4 separate regions of the Homo sapiens genome follow, and all the other regions are linked to region 1. Evidence: promoter capture Hi-C in 16 types of primary human blood cells and fetal thymus (Javierre and others, 2016). All regions are on one chromosome and are shown on one strand. Each heading gives the region's core, a stretch centred on a gene start or on the middle of the fragment in contact. The rest is flanking DNA. Distances are from core to core; before and after follow the strand shown.

Region 1 (2,691 bases), core at 106-2,605:
CACCCGTGGCTAGTGCATGCTCTGTCTTTTCCTTCAGAAAACGACCTTCAGGAATCAGCCTGAGTGTTCGCGCCCGAGCCCGATTGGAAGCAGGTGCGTGGTCGCTTCACTCTCCCCGTGCACACCTTGAGTTATAGCTCTCGCTGCGCACAGAGGGCACCACACGGGGCCCGACACACACACACACACACACACACACACACACACACACACACACACCATCACTTCATGGGGGGGAAACTGAGGCTGCCGGAAGACAGAAAACGAAGACTGATCACAGAAGAGGGGGCTTCAATCACAGGTGCTCGCAGACACCCCAACTCCCTCACGCGTTACTCAGCACTCCTTAACTTAGGAGACGTGCGCTTCCGAGAGATGAGAAGAAACTAAAAAAGTGGTTGGCAGGGCGAAGAGAGGAAGCCGGTATTTCGGAAGAAGGAGACTTTCGTCTCCGGTACCGGATAGGGCGAAAATTCGTTGGGTCGCGGGTGGAGAATCCGGGGTCCGCCCGCGCGGTGCCGCCCTGTGCTCAGCGAAAGGTGCGCTCACCTTCCTGGCCCCGAGGATCCGCTCCTCCCGGCCGCTGGAAAGCTCAGGGCGGGGCCCGGGCCTGCGGAGAACTCCAGGTTCCTTCCGAGTCTTCCGGTGAAGGCGGGCGCGGGTAGGGGGTCCCCGCGTTTCCCCAGCGCAAGGCCGCGTCCCGCTCCCGCCCGCGCCGGCCCCAGCAGGGCTCGGCCATGGCTCCACTCACCAGCTCCCGCCACCTGGGATCCGCTCCCGGACCTCGGCCGCCCGAGCCTCCCGACTCGCCCGCCCACCGGCCTCGCTTTCCAGTGCCTGCTGTCTCTTTCCGGGGCGCAGGGACCCCCAGGCGGCGCCACGACCCGGAGCTGGGTCGGAGGCCAGGCTGGGGCTCGGGCCAGAGCGGCCGGGCCTCTGGGCGCGGGAGAAGGAGGGCGCCCCCTCTCCGCTCGGGGTCGTGTCAATGCTTTGCACTTGGGGCCGGCGTGCGGCTGCGGGTCCTTCCCCAAGGCCCCGGGACCCGGGCTCCCCTCGCCTCAGGCCCTTTCGGCGGGTCAGGTCGGCCCTCCGCGCTCTCCAGTCCGGCGCAGGCAGCCGCAGGCGCGGGCGGGCGGTGGGGGCCGGGGCAGGAGGAGGGGTCTCGGGGCCCGGCGGCCCGTCATTGGTTAATATTTTATTCTGTTGACATGTTTTCTTACTGCTGAGGCTTCCGACACCTTCTCCCAGGCCCCCCCTCCCGGCCGGAGCTTGGCCTGAGCTGTCAAAACCCCGCCCCCGGAGACCCACAATTGGTCCAAAAAGCGTAAAATCAGCAATCAAGGGGGGCCTGGCTCGTTAGCGCAGGGGATCCGAGCTGGGCAGGACATGTGAGATAGTCACAGTTTTCCAGAGATCACGACAAGATCTAACCAGTCGCGCGTGGTCCCCGGCGCCGGAGCGGGCCAGCTCAGCCCGGCCCAGCCCGGCCCCGCGCAGAGCCCCCGCCGCCCCCGCGCACAGAGCCGGGTGCCCCTTGCGGTGCGCCGGACGGGAAGCCCCGAGGAGCAGCTGCTGCGCCCGCCACCCGGGTCGTCCGTCCACCGCGCGCGCCGCCGCCCGGGCCGGGGGTCCGAGCCGCGCGCCCCCGGCCCCGGCCCCGGCCCCCGGGCGCCTGGGCCGGATGTCCCGATGAGAGAGCCGGCGCTGGCGGCCAGCGCCATGGCTTACCACCCGTTCCACGCGCCACGGCCCGCCGACTTCCCCATGTCCGCCTTTCTGGCGGCGGCGCAGCCCTCCTTCTTCCCGGCACTCGCGCTGCCGCCCGGCGCGCTGGCCAAGCCGCTGCCCGACCCGGGCCTGGCGGGGGCGGCGGCCGCGGCGGCGGCGGCGGCAGCAGCGGCCGAGGCGGGGCTGCACGTCTCGGCACTGGGCCCGCACCCGCCCGCCGCGCATCTGCGCTCCCTCAAGAGCCTGGAGCCCGAGGACGAGGTGGAGGACGACCCCAAGGTGACGCTGGAGGCCAAGGAGCTGTGGGACCAGTTCCACAAGCTAGGCACGGAGATGGTCATCACCAAGTCCGGGAGGTAGGGCTGCCGGCCGGCTGGAAGGCGCGCGGGCGGGCGGGCGGGCTGGGGCACGGGACTGCACGGATCAGAGCAGAGCTGGGGACTCCCGGCTCCCGGCTCCCGGCTCCAGGTTCTGGCCCTGACGCCACGCTTCGCTCCCACGGACAACCAAGTTGACTTTTCTCGTTTGGCACCGGAGCGATTTTTTTTTAAAACAAAAACGCTAAAATCCTCCGAATGAAATAAAACGAAAACATACTGCTAAAGAATAGCCCCAACCGTTCTGAGTCCCAGCGCAGAGGAGGCCCCGCGGCTTGGCCCTGGCGGTCTCCTCCGCCCCGCGCTCTCGCTCTTCTGCGTCCGGGTCCGTCTCCGAGCTCGGGGGAAATTCAGCCTCTCTCAGACTCTGCTCCGACCCCGAAGCCCCTAGTGGGACCTGGGCCCAGCTAACCCCACGCTGGTTGCTCGGTTCCTGGCAGCGAGCCCCGGGTCAGCCGAGCCCTCCGCCTCACCGGGCTGGGAGCCCTTTCTCCACCGCGGGCATCCGAGCCCTGGACGCATCCGCCGCCCCAGGCCTTAAAGCCTGAAGAAAGCCACAGCCCCGGCCCCTCCACCCTTCGACTCA
Region 2 (2,691 bases), core at 59-2,558, 570 kb before region 1:
AAAGAGCTTAAAGCTTAACATAGGCCACCTTGTGCTTTCACCACATCTCCGAATCTCATGTGTGGCTTTATAAGATTTTGTGTCAGAGTATGCTGGTGTCCTAGTTTGTTCCTTGCACTGTAACAAAATACCACAAACTTGGTAATTTATAAATAATAATTATTTATAATAATTTATAAATATTATAATAATTTATAAATAATTATTTATAATAATTTATAAATAATTATTATTTATAATAATTTATAAATAACAGTTCTGGATGCTGGAAAGTCTGTGATCAAGGCAGTGGCAGGTTTGGTGTCTGGTGAAGAAGGCTCAGTCTTTGCTTCCAAGGTTGCACCTTGAACTCCATGTCCTCACATGGTGGAAGGGCAAAAAAGGGCCTAGGGTGTTCTCTGCAACCTCTTTTGTAAGGTTGCTAATCCCATTCATGAGATTGGGAAAGCTCTGCCCTCATGACTTAATCACCTCCTAAAGGCCCCACTTCTTAATACTATCTCTGGGGATTCAGTTTTTTTTTTTTTTTTTTGAGACGAAGTCTCGCACCGTCACCCAGGCTGGAGTGCAGTGGTGTGACCTCAGCTCACTGTAACCTCCGCCTCCCAGGTTCAAGCAATTCTCCTGCCTCAGCCTCCCAAGTAGCTGGGATTACAGGAGCCCGCCACCATGCCTGGCTAATTTTTTTTTGTATTTTTAGTAGAAACAGGGTTTCATTTTGTTGGCCAGGCTGGTCTCAAACTTCTGACCTCGTGATCCTCCTTCCTTGGCCTCCCAAAATGTTGAGATTACAGGCATGAGCCACCTCGTCTGGCTAGTTTTATTTTTGATTGATTAATTAATTAATTAATTAATTTTGAGACAGAGTGTCGCTCTGTTGCCCAGGCTGGAGCGCAGCGGTGTAATCTCGTCTTACTGCGGCCTTCACCTCCCGGTTTCAAGCAATTCTCAAGCCTCAGCCTCCTGAGTAGCTGGGGTTACATGAGTGCACCACCATGTGCAGCTAATTTTTTGTATTTTTAGTAGGGATGGGGTTTTGCCATGTTGCCTCAAATTCCTGGGCTCAAGTGATTCTCTCGTGTCGGCCTCTCAAAGTGCTGGGATTACAGGCGTGAGCCACCACTATAGCTGGTCCAATTCAAAAATTTAGCATATGAATTTTGGGGGACACATTCAGACCATTGCAGCTGGTAAGGTAAAAAAGAAGAAAATATTTGTGAAAGGTTTGCTTCTATACTGTCTGATTCTAAACTTAAGAATAAAAATTGGCCACATATTTATTAAAATGGGGTTCTCTCCCTAACCATTTTACTACCATATATTTCATGTAGCAATGTTGCAAAGAGGTATGTTTTCCATGAGCTACATCTAATTCTTGTCTTTCTTCTCATCTCTCCTGAGCTATTTGCCTGGAAATTTAACAGGAGTACTTAGAAATGGGACATAAAGAAAGATCACCAGAAGATAGTAGTCTATAATGTATATCTGAAGAAAGAAGCCCACAAAACAAATACTGGCATAATGATAACGTGGATGATATTAGGCCTTCAGTGGCAGCTTTTGCAATTTAACAGGAACTCTGCTTGTAGTGATATTTCTGTTTAATGGATACAAATATGATTTTGTATTTGATAATTTTTTTCATATGTAGGTTTAACGTAAGGTTTATACTCCATAATATTTATTGATATTCCTGAATCCATGGATGAAAATATAGAATAATGGAACTAACAAGGGTTTTGGAGTCACATAGACCTAGCTGTGAGTTACTAGCTGTGTAAACTAAATTACTCAACAGTTCTTAGGCTCACTTTCCTTATTTGTAAAGCAGTGCTTATATAAAACTGCTGTGATTGGTTCTTGTGTGAATTCAATGAGGCACTGTTTTCAAGTATTGATTACATCCTGATACATGTTAGGTGTGCCTCATACTATTTGGGTCAGGAAGGTATTAAGGATAGTTAGATATCACTCTTCACCAGGAATTTCTTTTCATTTATATTTATATACTTTCTTTGAGTGGGAGTTTTGCCTCTATGACTGTTCGAGAAATAGGGCTGTACCCAGCTTATCTGGTGCTTGTGCTACAGATTGGCCAGTCTTCATTGCCTAACCGAGTACTGCATCTAGAGGTCTTTACTTTCATTGGAAAATGGTAATGTGTTCATATTCCCAGTAGAAGCTCATATAGTATAAAGCTACATGTGTGTGTATTTTTGTGTGTGTCTTTATTGAGGTATATGGAAATATGATGAACGGCATATATTTAAAGTGTACAGTTTGATAAATTTTGACATCTGTATATGTCCATGAAGCCATCACATTCCAATCAAGATAATGAGCATATCCATCACCCACAATAGTTTTCTCATGTTTCTTTGTAATGCACCCTTCCTGTTCCTCCCCCTGTAGAAGAAGCGTGTTTCTATGTAATAAGTCTTCCCGAGTAGCAGTGCCATCTTCACTTTGTAATGAGGTTTTTTTGGGAAATACTTTGCTGTCACATAGTTCAAAGTGACTTTAGTATACAGTTAAAAATATAAAGGTAAAGGTATTGAGTTCAAAGTTGTTTTTTCTTCTGCTCTACAACTTAACCAAAAAGTAAAGCTTTCCATCTAGAACCAGTTCATAAAACAACTAAAAGGCTTGCAGTTTCTCTGTGTAATCATTTCAAAACAATAGTTTTTTTTC
Region 3 (2,691 bases), core at 53-2,552, 550 kb before region 1:
CATTGTATGTAGTCTTGAACTCCTGGGCTGAAGTGATCCTTCTGCCTCAACCTCCCAAGTAGCTGGGACTACAGGCGTGCTACCGTGCCTCGCTGATTTTTTATTTTTTGTAGAGATAGGGTCTTGCTACATTGCCCAGGATGGTCTTGAACTTCTGGGCTCAAGCAATCATCTCACCTTGGCCTCCAAAAGTGCTGGGATTAGAGACGGAACCCACTGCACTTGGTGCCTGGACTCCCCTATTCTTTGATACATCCACTTTCTCCCATCATTAACACATTAAATTAGTGTGGCTAGTACATTTGTTTCAGTCAGTGTGCTGATACTGATACAACTAATATCCATAGTTTATATTAAGTTTCACCCCTTGAGTTGTACATTGTGTGGCATTTGAGAAATGTATGATGCTCTGTACCCACTATTACAGTATCATAAAGATAGTTCCTCTGTCCTGAGAATTCCCTGTACTCTGCTTATTACTCCTTTTTTCCCTCCCCCTAACTCCTGGCACCACTGTTTTTTTTTTTTTTTTTTTTTTTTTTTTTGAGATGGAGTTTTTGCTCTTGTTGCCCAGGTTGGAGTGCAATGGCGTGATCTCGGCTCTCTGCAACCTCTGCCTCCTCAGTTCAAATGATTCTTCTGTCTCAGCCTCCTGAGAAGCTGGGATTACAGGCACCCGCCACCACACCCAGCTAATTTTTGTATTTTTAGTAGAGATGGGGTTTCATCATATTGGTCAGGCTGGTCTCGAACTCCTGACCTCAGGTAATCTGCCTGCCTCGGCTTCTGAAAGTGCTGGGATTAGAGGCGTGAGCCACTGCGCCCGGCCAATTTTAGACCTTTTCTGACAAGCTTCTTTTACTTAGCAATATGCATTCAGGGTTCCCTCATTTCTTTTTCTGGCTTGATGGCTCATTTCTTTTTGTTGCTGAATAATACTTTTATTAGCAACAAAGAATGAAATACTTAAGTGTAAAACAAGCAAAAGATCTATATGAGTAAAACAACAAAATACTGATACATGAAATAAAAAAATATAAATGTCATCTCTTCCTAAGTTGATCTATGCATTCAGTGCAATTCCTATAAAAATACAAGCAAGTTATTTTGTGGATATGTACTAAGTAATTCTAAAGTTTGTATGGAAAGGCAATGCTCCTAGAAGATAACATAGAAAATCTAGGTGACCTTGAGTTTTGGCGATGACCTCTTAAGTACAACACCGAAAGCGCAATCATAAATGAAAAAATCAGTAAGTTGGGCTTTATTAAAATTAAAAACTTTTGCTCCGTGAAAGATTATTTTAAGAGAGTGAGAAGATGGGCTGCAGATGGTGAGGAAATATTGGTGAAAGACACGTCTGACTAAAGAACTAAAAAACTCTTAAACCTGAACAGTAAGAAAATGAACAATCCTATTAAAAAATGAGCAAAAGGGTCTCAGCAGCTCGGGCTGCAGGAGGAGTGGCAGCAGCCAGGCAGCCCAGCTTCGCAAAGGCTCTCGGCATGCTGCGGCCCGCAGGCACCTGGCACACGTCCTCCCCGCCACCAGGATGCCCGAGAGGAAGGTCAGCTCCACCGAAGGGGCCGCCAAGGAAGAGGCCAAGAGGAGATCGCCGCGGTTGTCAGCTAAACTTGCTCCTGCAAAAATGGAAGCGAAGCCGAAAAAGGCAGCAGCAAAGCATTGAAACCACCATCTGTAAAGCTCTACATGTTCTTCACGGGGTGAATAATTTCTACCCAAAACTTGGGTTAAAGCTTGAAACGAGGAAGTACAAATAAAAGGGCAAAGGGGAGCAAAGGGAAAACAGGCTGAAAGAAACTAAAGAAGATTTACCTGCAGAAAAGGGGGAAATGAAAACTGAGGGGAGTCCAGCCTCTGATGAAGCAGGAGAGAAAGAAGCCAAGTCTGATTAATACCATATACCATGTCTTATCAGTGGTCCCTGTCTCCCTTCTTGTACAATCCAGAGGAATATTTTTATCAACTATTTTGTAAATGCAAGTTTTTTAGTAGCTCTAGAAACATTTTTAAGAAGGGAATCTCACCTCATCCCATTTTTTAAGTGTAAATGCTTTTTTTTAAGAGGTGAAATCATTTGCTGGTTGTTTATTTTTTGGTACAACCAGAAAATAGTGTGGGATATTGAATTATGGGAAGCTTTGACTGTCTTGGGTGTCAGCTTAACATTTCATAGATGGGGGATAGTTTTCATATCCTATAATACAAAGCATATTAAATGGCAATATGGAGTCAGTCCTGCATTTAATGTCTTGAACATTTTAAATTACTTCTATTCCCGTGGTTTTTTTTTTTATTATACTTTAAGTTTTAGGGTATGTGTGCACAATGTGCAGGTTAGTTACATATGTATACATGTGCCATGTTGGTGTGCTGCACCCATGTTGTTTTTTAGTAGAATTGTTTCCTAAAGAAAACCACTCTTTGATTATGGCTCTCCCTGTCAGAATTGTGTCCACTCTGTAACATCGTTGGTTGTGGTTGTCCTGTTTTCCTAATAACTTTGTTACTGTGCTGTGAAAGATTAAAAAATTGAATATGTAGTATACATGCTATTCAGTTGTGAATTGGTGGGATGTGTGTAACAGCTTATCAAATTGTGAAGATACTGGTACTTGATGTCCTCTTAAGGAAAATTTGCTTCCAAATTTAAGCTGGAAAGTCACTGGA
Region 4 (2,691 bases), core at 104-2,603, 530 kb before region 1:
ACTCTTAATAATGGTGCATTTTTGTGGCTGTGTGTGTGTTTCATTATTTGATATTTTCTGTCAAACGCTGTGTGTAGAGGAATAGTACAGACATTGGTAATTAGATATGGAAATGCCTTTTCTTCTATCAGGGCATTAAAAGGGTATTAAGTTGATATAACATGTAGGCAAGGTGGTCTGAGGCTTTAGTATAGTAACAGAACAGAAATGGAATTTACAATTGAGTAATTCTAAAATTTGATATTATCACCTTTATAAGGATATTATCTCTACCTTTTTGTGTATTCAGAGTACACATACACATATATAGCAAATTATCACTTATTAGTAAGAAGCAACCCAGTAAAATATATAGAGAAAAGTTTTTAACAGGCCCAGCTAGAAAAAAAAATTGCAAGGATCTAACAGTAGTCACTCATTAGAATTATTCTGCATCAGTAAATGAAATTGTTGTTTTTAAAGATGAACAAAATTAATAAAGCATGCATATGAAATAATACATTTTCCTTTTTTTATACTCATATTAGCATCTGTTGCTCAGATTTACCAGCTTCCAATTTTGAAAAATAAGCTATTAGTTTGTTAAATATTTAGTAACAATTATAATCTCTATTTGATTTTTTGAAGTAAATATTAAGCTTGGCTATTTATATTAATATGCTGCAAGGATAGCACAATATAAAGTGGTGGCTTTGGATGTATTTTAGGAATTTTGCTTTAAAAAAGTGTTTATAACTAAATTATTTTCTAATTATCTGTAAATCTTGGGCATTGAGAAAAATACTGCTTTTACAGATTGTTAGTGAATTTTACTATATTGAGTCAATCAGAAATGACTTATATTTATGAGTAGCAGTTGGGAAATTCATCCGCCATTTAAACTTAAAGTGATGGGTTACATAAATCCATTTTATCTTTAATACCATGACTAAAACATCACTGGAAAAACACTTTAGTAGATAGCCAACAATTTATTATCTTCTCCATTCTTTTTTTTTCATTTCCTTTTGAGACAGGATCTCACTATGTTGCCTAGGCTGGTCTCAATCTCCTGGGCTCAAGTGATTCTCCTGCCTCAGCCTCTTGAGTAGCTGGGATTACGGGTGTGCAACACTGTGCTGGGCTTGATCTTATCCATCTTTACTGTAGACTTATTCGATTCAAAAATAAATGAAAACAAAACTTTACTTTGTGTATTCATATTTTTAGAGACAAGATCTTGCTGTTGCCCAGGCTGGCGTGCAGTGGTGTGATCGTAGCTCCCTGCAGTCTTGACCTCCTGGGCTCAAGTGATCCTCCTGCCTCAGCCTCCTGAGTAACTAGGACTACAGGCTCACACCACCACACCTGGCTAGTTTATTTGTATTATTTCTTATAGAGACAGGGTCTTCCTTTGTTGCCCAGGCTGGTCTCAACCTCCTGGGCTCAAGTGATCCTTCTGCCTTGGCCTCCAGGAATGTTGGGATTGTAGGCATGAGCCACCATGCCTGGCTGAAACAAAACTATTAAAAGACAAACATTTTTTGAGGTGGTAGTTTTTTCTTCCATCACTTTTCTTCTAGTCATCTCTATCTTATTTATATATAGGATTTTGTGGTTTATATTTTTACACATTTTAAGAGGCAGAAGTTTCTAGCCTAAATATTATAGGAAATGTTTAATTTTAAAATTGTATTAGTAGGCACTTGTTTTCATCTAGATGATATAATGCATTTCTGATTCCACTTACAGAATTTCACATTCACTTTTTTTCTTTCTGTTTTTTTTCTCTCTCTAATTTTAGGATCCTTGTCGTAGTCTTGCAGGAGAAAATTGCTGCCTTTGATAGCTGTACTTTCACGAAGAAATTCTTTGTTACAAGTATGTACCAATTTTTTTTCCCTTCTTATGCCTTTGGGTTTATACTACTTACTTGACACAATCAGCAAACTAACTGTAATTTTCTCAACAGTACTTAATGTTTTCAATTTTGATGATTTTCTTGTGATTCTGTGGCTATTCTCATTGAGTAATATTCTTGTATGATATATATTTTCAACTTTCCAACACATTTTCTTTATATTACTAAGCAAGCTTTGTTGTGGGTTACCTCACTTTCTCCTTACATACTATCCTTGAGTTTGTGATTTAGTTTCATATAGCTGTTTCATACTTTCAAAGCAGTTGTTAAATTGCTTAACATACCGTACTTTTATACATTATACCTTTACATATGAGCAAAATTTGTTTCTACTAACATTAGTATCTGTCATTTAACCAAAAGGTGAAAAAAATATATTTTTCGAATAAGGACTTATATTTTAAAAGAGTGTTCAAAAATCTTCAATACTGTTAAATAAACTTATGTACTTATAAAGCTGTAAGCACAATTTCCTTTAAAACTTTTGTTTGTTTTTGTAAATTGATAATATTTGCAGCTTTTCTGTGGGAGTATTTGGCAGCTTGAGATTTTCTAATAGGAGAATTTGTGGTAAGTCCTCATTTGGGTCAACTTACAGATTTTCTGTATGATGGAAAAAAATGTAAACACATAAAGCCTTGGAAAATATATTGGCAGAATCAGTATAGAAGTTGGCACATTTTCAAAGAAAGCAATTTAGCAGTTTCGTATTACCAATTTTACTATAATTTCTCAATTTAAACCATATATGACAGAGAAAAGAGTGAAAAAACCTTTTACTTAGAAGAGAG

Evidence for each region. The method cuts DNA at HindIII sites, captures the fragments that hold promoters and counts their contacts. A CHiCAGO score of 5 or more calls a contact.
Region 2: a contact is called between a fragment that was not itself captured here and the fragment with the promoter of TBX2 in region 1, in 1 of 17 cell types (M2 macrophages). The highest score is 5.7, in M2 macrophages.
Region 3: a contact is called between a fragment that was not itself captured here and the fragment with the promoter of TBX2 in region 1, in 2 of 17 cell types (M0 macrophages and megakaryocytes). The highest score is 5.4, in M0 macrophages.
Region 4: a fragment that was not itself captured here is called in contact with the fragment with the promoter of TBX2 in region 1 in 1 of 17 cell types (megakaryocytes); the score reaches 6.1 in megakaryocytes.

What each region holds. Positions count from the first base shown.
Region 1 is chr17:61,398,488-61,401,178 of GRCh38, forward strand. TBX2 (T-box transcription factor 2) reads left to right here and starts at 1,356. Exons shown (of 7, transcript NM_005994.4): 1 at 1,356-2,084. The coding sequence starts at 1,690. It overlaps TBX2-AS1 (TBX2 antisense RNA 1), which reads right to left and starts at 1,119. Exons shown (of 2, transcript NR_125751.1): 1 at 752-1,119. RefSeq lists promoters at 313-1,573, 1,193-1,440 and a cis regulatory region at 1,429-1,440. The HindIII fragment of the contact is 11,976 bases long and covers 1-2,691 here.
Region 2 is chr17:60,825,344-60,828,034 of GRCh38, forward strand. The region is part of intron 7 of BCAS3 (BCAS3 microtubule associated cell migration factor); the gene reads left to right. Among named protein-coding and RNA genes, the nearest start is that of BCAS3, 150 kb to the left of the region's middle. The HindIII fragment of the contact is 2,594 bases long and covers 12-2,605 here.
Region 3 is chr17:60,849,830-60,852,520 of GRCh38, forward strand. All of the region lies in intron 7 of BCAS3 (BCAS3 microtubule associated cell migration factor), which reads left to right. It also overlaps the pseudogene HMGN1P28. Among named protein-coding and RNA genes, the nearest start is that of BCAS3, 170 kb to the left of the region's middle. The HindIII fragment of the contact is 905 bases long and covers 851-1,755 here.
Region 4 is chr17:60,872,879-60,875,569 of GRCh38, forward strand. BCAS3 (BCAS3 microtubule associated cell migration factor) reads left to right here. Exons shown (of 24, transcript NM_017679.5): 9 at 1,784-1,860. Among named protein-coding and RNA genes, the nearest start is that of BCAS3, 200 kb to the left of the region's middle. The HindIII fragment of the contact is 1,435 bases long and covers 637-2,071 here.